2 separate regions of the Homo sapiens genome follow, and region 2 is linked to region 1. The links are contacts of gene promoters, found by promoter capture Hi-C in human tissues and cell types (Jung and others, 2019). All regions are on one chromosome and are shown on one strand. Each heading gives the region's core, a stretch centred on a gene start or on the middle of the fragment in contact. The rest is flanking DNA. Distances are from core to core; before and after follow the strand shown.

Region 1 (4,021 bases), core at 1,294-3,793:
CAAATCCAAAAAAAAAAAAAAAAAAAGACACAATCAGCACTTGACTTTTACTTCAGGAAAATAAAGTTTTACTTGGGAACAGATATTTTAGCATAAGAACTTAGCATAAGAACAAACTAAAATGATTAGTATTCCAAAGGTACAAAATCATATTTGGCCAAAATCCTTCAAAAGCCAACGTACCACTACTACAGACAGATCTGGGTGACGATGCGTGCTTATTGCAACAGTGAACTTCTGGACCTTAGAATGTGCCCTGTATGTAACAGCAGACGCTGAAGAACTTGAGCCAAGCCTTCAAGCTTGAAGGTCATGGAGCGTTTGCTCACATCATTGATCTATTCCACTACAGTAGGTCTTCTAAATCACATCTATATTTAGAAGAATGAAGCCAAAAACCTAACCAGTTTAGATTTAAATTAACTTTCGAGTAAAATCTAACTCTCAAGTGGAAGCTGCCCCCAAACATTCTCTAACTACTATCACAAGATTTTTAAACTATGTCATTTAATCTTACAAACATAATTTTTGGAAAGTCCATGTTTAGCAGTTTCCTTTCCTTGTACTATGTAGAGATGAAATAAAACCCACTGATCACCACCTTCAGCTTTCTGTTGACCTAAGGCAAACACAGATATTTTAATATCTCCTCCTATTTTGAGAATAATTTCCATAGTCTGAATGTTTCCACCAATAAATACCTTTCAAATGAAGGACTATTATAGTGCCATGTATTAGGCAACTGTAACCAATAATCCACTTTTGCCCATCACAGAATTGATTTAAAATCTCTTACTGTTGACCTAAAAACATAAGTTCTTCATAGCCAAGTTCCACATTAGCTAGGCCTTAAATCAAGGCAACAATTGAGCAGCACAATTCTACTCCTGGGAAAATATTTACCAAAAACTAGCGGAAAATCTTGAATAACTAGTGTCTGTTTTTTTATTGTATTTTTTCTTTGAACGGAGTAGAGTTTACTCATAACTCTCTATACCAATTAAATCATAATGACCAGCTAAAGATTAACAGTTTCTTTAAAAATTACAAACTTACCCCATTCTAGGTATTCGAGAATGTTCTTCTCTCTTCTCAATGGAGAATTATTGCATTCATCATAAAGGCAGATGAGTATATCCAGTAATGTCTCCACACTGAAGCACTGCCCATTGGTCTGAGCGGGCCCGTCCAAAATAAACTGCTCCAACTGCCTCAAACGCACTTCTCCAGACATGTTTGCTTCGATTTCTGCTGGTTTTCCTTTAAATTATTATGATGACTTTTACTATTATCTGAACCTAAATTTTAAAAGGTATGGTTTTAAAAATAAACCACTTGTTATTCAAACAACTGTCATGCAATGCTGGTGCTGAATTAAACATCCAACACACCAGTAACCTCACTTAACTGAAGCGTCTTCAATTTCACCCATATACATATATTTTGAGGGTAAATTACCATAAAATATATACTTAATGCATTTTTAAAAGAATACAATTAAGTCGTATATTTAAATAAAATAATAATTAAAAGTACAACGAACTAGAGAGTCAACACTTCTTTAAAAAAAAAAAAAAAAACTCTTCTCCTTCATTCAAAATTCAACTCGTGCAACGTAATCCTGAAACGAATCCGGTTGCATCATTAATGAATAAAGTCCGATTTGCATCAGCAATTCACTTCCCGGGAAGAAGAAAAACAGAAAAGGGAGGAAAAAAACAGAATGCATAGAAGGGGGAGGGAAAACCAAAAATGTTGCTGCAAATCCTCCCAACCACCACTTGGATAATGCATCAGCGGCAATTTCTCCAGCGGGAAAGGGAGGGGGCGAGGTCCCTGAAGCAGCCCCTCGGCTCGGAGCACGCCAAGTCTTGCCCGGAGGCGGCTTTTCGTTTCTCCTCCCGAGGTCCTTCTTTCTTTAAGGCTTTGCAGTCAGTCCTATTTTCAACGGATTCCGGTGAAAACTCTTCATTTTCCTCCCGGCTTCACCCTAGGGCCTGACCGGCGGCGCGGCCGGGGGTGGAAGGCGGGCTGCGGGCGGCACTGGCACCGGGCTCCGGAGAAGCGGCTACTTGGCCGCCCGAGCCCACTCCATGTCGGTGGTCGCTCGTGGGCCGAGCCGCGCCGCGCCGCGCCGGGCAGAGAGCCCGGTCTCCCCGACACCCGCACCGGGCCGCCGCGCCGGAGGCTCCCGACGCCCCAGGCGGGGGGGTGCTTCTCTGAATTCAAAGGACACAAGCAGCAGCAGCTGCGGCGGCGGCGCGGGCGGCTCTGGCAGCTACTTCTCCCCCTTCTTCACACCCCTGGGCTAAGGGCATCTTTCCACAGCGAGGAGGGAGGCGGCCCGGCGCAGGAGGAGGGGTCGCTTCCGCGGCTGAGGAGACTAGAGGCTGCGGCAGCCCGGCTCCCAACCACTCCCTTCCTCTCCCTTCCAGCCCTCCCCCGCCTTCCCTCTCCTCTCGCGCTCGCGCCCTGGGCTCAGCGAGGCTCCTCCAGTCCCGCCGCACAGAGGCGGAGGCTTGCGGACGAGTCTGGATCCAATATGGCGGCCTGGCCCCCCGGCCCCGGCACACGCGCGCGCACACGCCCTCCACTCCCCGCCCCCGCCCTGCCCGAGCCTCAGCCCCAGCCGGCGGCCAAGCCGGGCGGGGTCCGGCCGGCGCGCCCAGCGGAGGCCCCCAAGGGGGCGCGGGCTCGGGGCCCGAGTGGCTGCGCCAGCCCGAGGGGAGGGGTGTGGACTGCCTAGGCGGCGAGGCTGCGGCTGCCGCAGCGTGGAATGCGGAGCTGCGGGAGGGCTGAGGGAGGCCCGGGCGGCGGTGGCGGAGCATATGGAGGCGGGATGACCGGGCCGCGCCGGGAGCTGCGGCGGGACTGGGCGCAGGCTGGGAACTGCGCCACCGCCGCGCCGTGGCCCCGGCTCCCCGAGGCTTCTGGTGCAGATCGCGAAGGGGGGCTCCTGCTCGTCCTCGGAGACATCACCTGTCTGGCGCGTTTGTTAAGGGCGCCCAGAAGCAGAGGGCTTTAGGCTTCCGACAGAGCTGGAGGAGACGGTGCCTTTCAGCCCCTTACCTGCTCCCCACCGGCCCCCCAGATTCGGTTCGCGCACACTCCAGAGTAATCGTTTCTTAGGTGTCTAATTACAGCACTTCGTGTGTCATTTCCCAGGACAAAAACAATGACAGACTTGTCCGAGCTACCATCGAAGTCTTGGGTCTGCACGCAAAGGATGGAATCCCCCATCTCCATTCCCAAAAGTTTCCCTACGGGAGCCTGGTGTTGTCTCCTCCGGAACTGTCCTCGCGGCTGCCTGTTTTTCCCTAGCCATGGTTACTGCCTGCGGGGGATTCAGCCTGTGAAGGCAGTCAAGGCAGTTCACCACTGTCATCAAACCTACACCCCTGTGTGCATGCGCACACACACTTGTAACCCAGTGGCACAATGCAGGAATTAGGGAAGCAAAGGCAAATCGCTGAATAGCTAGGGCACCTGATCCCTGTAGGGCCCTTCCAGGTTTTTGTGAATCTCGGTTTTAGGAGAGCTCCCTTTATAAAATTCTCATGGAAGATGCCACATTTAAATTAACACCACAAAACTAGGTCATTGCAGTTCTGTTACTTTCTCTCAAAATTGCCATCTCCTTTATGGTCGTTCTCTAAAATACAATTATTTTATATTCCTTCCCCACACCTGTGAGGCGGTTGTGTTTCTATGTTCATGTCCACAATTGCATCTTACATCTTGATAATATGGAAGCTGAGGAAGAATTAGAAATGAGGGCCTAGACGTAAAATGAAGGCTAACAGAAGTCGATTCAAGTTGTGATTCATGAAATAGTGTGAATCTTTTATGAAATCTACAACGTCTACACTTGCCTGGCTTAAGAACAGCATTATTTTCAATGCGGTCTTGACATGAATGATACTTAGATTCAAACAAAAGGTCAGTCATTTCCAGCCATGACATCTTTATATGGGTGTGTGTTGTCTAATTCTAAAAGTAGTAGAAAAGTTTAATCCTAACA
Region 2 (3,985 bases), core at 1,188-3,687, 320 kb before region 1:
CAGGGAGCGGAGAGCGAGAGGTCCCAGTGCTGAGGCAGCTCACGGGTCCCAGCTCCCGCGGTCAGTGCTCTCCAGGGAGAGGCTCTTGGTTTTTCGGGGTGAAGCTGGGCTTGGGGGGCTGCTTAGGTTGGAACTGTTGGAAGCTGTGGAATGCCTCGGAGAGTCAGAGTCCTGTAAGGCCCAAAGTAAAACATTAATGAGAAGGAGGGGGAGAAAGGGAGGCAGAAGGGGCTCAGATTACCACCGCCCCCTCCAGCCACCCTGACCAAATAACCCCATGGGGCGGCCTCACTGTCGGTATAAAGCCCCTTCTATGAGCTGAGGAAGAGGCACGGAACATACAAGCTCCGTCCTTTCTGTAGGCCTTTACAGATGATGGTATTTTCACACAAAAGCCAGAAGTCTGAATGCCTCTGGGAAAACTGCAGTTTGCAGCCCGAGTGACTGGCCTAGCTGCCCGCTGGCCAAGAGTGAATGCTGGCCCCTGACCCCGAACCCTGCTGCAGCTGAGGCCAATCCCAAGGTGGTGGGATTGCCTGGGAAGATGCCCTAGTCTTTCTGATACATGACGTCTCCGGAACCCTGCCCACTCACCTCTCCGTCAAAGTCCCTCGCTGGGGCATCACTTCCTTGGTCCATGCCTCCAGAGGACAAAGAGCCCTCTGACGGGGAGGGCATGGGCTGCCGCTTGGCACTGTAGCTTCCTCCAGAGAATTCCCTCTTTAATGCGCTGCCATTCTGTGCGGATGACCCTACAGTACATCATGCAGGCAAAATTTTACATATGCAGAGGGGACAATACTCTAGAAAGCACACAGACTGCTGAGCTGACAGGCCATCCTTTGCAGGCCCCAGACCACTCCTCCCCTGAAGCGCAGTAAGTCCAACTGTAGTACCTTTGCCCTGAGCTCAACCCCGAATCCAGCAATCTCACTCGCTGTTCCTGTCCACCCCAGCCACGGGGACTCCCGGTGAGCGAGCACTCTCTAGGCTGTGCCATCTGCCCCAATGCCCTGCTTGTTAACAATTCCCCAGAATCCCTCAAGTCTCCACCTGCCTGGTGCTGCCTTGCACATCTTTCCCAGCCACTGACGGCTCCCAGCCATCTTTCACACATCTCTTTCATGGCATTTATGAAGTCATGTTATCATCATGTGCCTGTCATTCTCCCAATAGATGAGGTGTCTTTGCCTCTCCAGGGCCTAGCACAGAACATGGCACACGGCAGGCTCAAAACAGATGCGCTAAATGAGGAAGCTCGGTTGTACCATCCCGAGAGAGGCCATGCCACTCAATGAAGAAATATCGCTTATCTTCTAGAAAATTTTCATAAAACCATAAAGAAAACATAAAAGTACTTTTACTTCACAGGGCAAAGAGCCTGAGATGTAAAATAAAAGTGAGGTTTTCTTCAAACTCACTCTCTATTTTGTTCTCAGAGTTGGGGTAGGTAACAGTGGACCAGCAGCATTCACAGGAAGAAAAGGGAAGACCCAGAACACCCTGGGGAATCTCGGGGCTATTGTCAGTACCTATTTAAAGCTCTTAGCATTCCCTACTATGACAAGGTTTTTGCTTAAACATGCCTTCATCGTGCTGAGTTTCAGTATTAGGATGATTGGTCCAAAAGACTGTGTTGAGGTTTTAGCACAACTCTAAGGTACAGGTTGTGCTTGTTTCAACTTTTTGCGGGTTTAACATGTCTCAATTGTTTTTCACATTAAGAATTCAGTGAAAAATGTCAAAAAATGATAGTTTAAAGCAGCACATTTATCTAATGACCACCAAAATACACAAGCGTTCATAAATAAACTGAACAAGAGCCTGCCTGGGCAGACTCTGTCCTTGGTAATCCCCCTTCCACCTCCCTTCCTCAGCTTCTTTGCGAAGCCCCTGGGCTGCAGTCACAGGCTCGCTGGCATTTCCTCGACACTGGAACTGACTGACTGCAGATCAGCAACACTGGTGGTTTACTGTTTAGCGTATGATGGAGCTTGACAAACACCAATGCCCAGCCCTATCCCAGAACAATTTGCAGAGTTTCTGACTTAACTTTAAAAGTCCTCCTGTCATTTTTGCACATTGATTTTGTAACCTGAGACTTTGCTGAAGTTGCTTGTCAGCTTAAGGAGATTTTGGACTGAGATGAAGGGGTTTTCTAATACAATCATGTCACCTGCAGACAGAGACAATTTGACTTCCTCTCTTCCTATCTGAATACCCTTTATTTCCTTCTCTTGTCTGGTTGCCCTGGCCAGAACTTCCAATACTATGTTGAATAGGAGTGGTGAGAGAGGGCATCCTTGTCTGGTTGCAGTTTTCAAAGGGAATGCTTCCAGCTTTTGCCCATTCGGTATGATATTGGCTGTGGGTTTGTCATAAATAGCTATTATTTTGAGATACGTTCCATCAATACCTAGTTTATTGAGTTTTTAGTATAAAGGTGTTGAATTTTATCAAAGGCCTTTTCTGCATCTATTGAGATAATCATGTGGTTTTTGTCACTGGTTCTGTTTATGTGATGGATTACGTTTATTGACTTGCGTATGTGGAACCAGTCTTGCATCTCAGGGATGAAGCCGACTTGATCGTGGTGGATAAGCTTTTTGATGTGCTGCTGGAATGTTTGCTAGTATTTAATTGAGGATTTTCGCATCAATGTTCATCAGGGATATTGGCTTGAAATTTTCTTTTTTTGCTGTGTCTTTGCTAGGTTTTGGTATCAGGATGATGCTGGCCTCATAAAATGAGTTAGGGAGGAGTCCCTCTTTTTCTATTGTTTGGAATAGTTTCAGAAGGAATGGTATCAGCTCCTCTTTGTACCTCTGGTAGAATTCGGCTGTGAATCTGCCTGGTCCTGCCTTTTTTTAGCTGGTAGGCTATTAATTACTGCCTCAATTTCAGAACTTGTTATTGGTATATTCAGGGATTCAACTTCTTCCTGGTTTAGACTTGGGAAGGTGTATGTGTCCAGGAATTTATCCATTTCTTCTAGATTTTCTATTTTATTTCTGTAGAGGTGTTTATAGTATTCTTTGATGGTAGTTTCTATTTCTGTGGGATCAGTGGTGATCTCCCCTTTATCATTTTTTTATTATGTCTATTTGATTCTTCTCTCTTTTCTTATTAGTCTGGCTAGCGGCCTATTTTGTTAATCTTTTCAAAAAACCAGCTCCTGGAATCACTGATTTTTTGAAGGGTTTTTCGTGTCTCTATCTCCTTCAGTTCTGCTCTGATCTTAGTTATTTCTTGTCTTATGCTAGCTTTTGAATGTGTTTGCTCTTGCTTCTCTAGTTCTTTTAATTGTGATGTTAGGGTGTCGATTTTAGATCTTTCCCGCTTTCTCCTGTGGGCATTTAGTGCTATAAATTTCCCTCTAAACATTGCTTTAGCTGTGTCTCAAGAGATTCTGGTATGTTGTGTCTTTGTTCTCATTGGTCTTAAAGAACTTATTTATTTCTGCCTTCATTTCGTTATTTACCCAGTAGTCATTCAAGAGCAGGTTGTTCAGTTTCCAAGTAGTTGTGCGGTTTTGAGTGAGTTTCTTAATCCTGAGTTCTAATTTGATTGCACTGTGGTCTGAGAGACTTATAATTTCCATTCCTTTGCATTTGGTGAGGAGTGTTTTACTTCCAATTATGTGGTCAGTTTTAGAATAAGTGTGATGTGGTGCTGAGAAGAATGTATATTCCGTGGATTTGGGGTGGAGAGTTCTGTAGGTGTGTATTAGGTCCGCTTGAACCAGTGTGCAAAAATCACAAGCATTCCTACACACCAATAATAGAGAGCCAAATCATGAGTGAACTCCCATTACAATTGCTACAAACAGAATAAAATACCTAGGAATCCAACTTACAAGGGATGTGAAGGACCTCTTCAAGGAAAACTACAAACCACTGGTCAAGGAAACAAGAGAGGACACAAACAAATGGAAAAACATTCCATGCTTATGGATAGGAAGAATCAATATCATGAAAATGGCCAT

The links. Contacts are between HindIII fragments. The study calls those that stand out against the background at their distance.
Region 2: a contact is called between a fragment that was not itself captured here and the fragment with the promoter of CDC42BPA in region 1, in 1 of the 25 tissues and cell types used here (dorsolateral prefrontal cortex).

What each region holds. Positions count from the first base shown.
Region 1 is chr1:227,315,949-227,319,969 of GRCh38, forward strand. It overlaps CDC42BPA (CDC42 binding protein kinase alpha), which reads right to left and starts at 2,544. Exons shown (of 37, transcript NM_001394014.1): 1 at 1,057-2,544. The coding sequence starts at 1,234. LOC124904531 (a long non-coding RNA gene) reads left to right here and starts at 2,644. Exons shown (of 2, transcript XR_007066911.1): 1 at 2,644-3,050; 2 at 3,166-4,021. The HindIII fragment of the contact is 8,280 bases long and covers 1-4,021 here.
Region 2 is chr1:226,994,229-226,998,213 of GRCh38, forward strand. CDC42BPA (CDC42 binding protein kinase alpha) reads right to left here. Exons shown (of 37, transcript NM_001394014.1): 36 at 595-752; 37 at 1-171. The coding sequence ends at 40. Among named protein-coding and RNA genes, the nearest start is that of COQ8A, 56 kb to the left of the region's middle. RefSeq lists a silencer at 441-587. The HindIII fragment of the contact is 5,082 bases long and covers 1-3,985 here.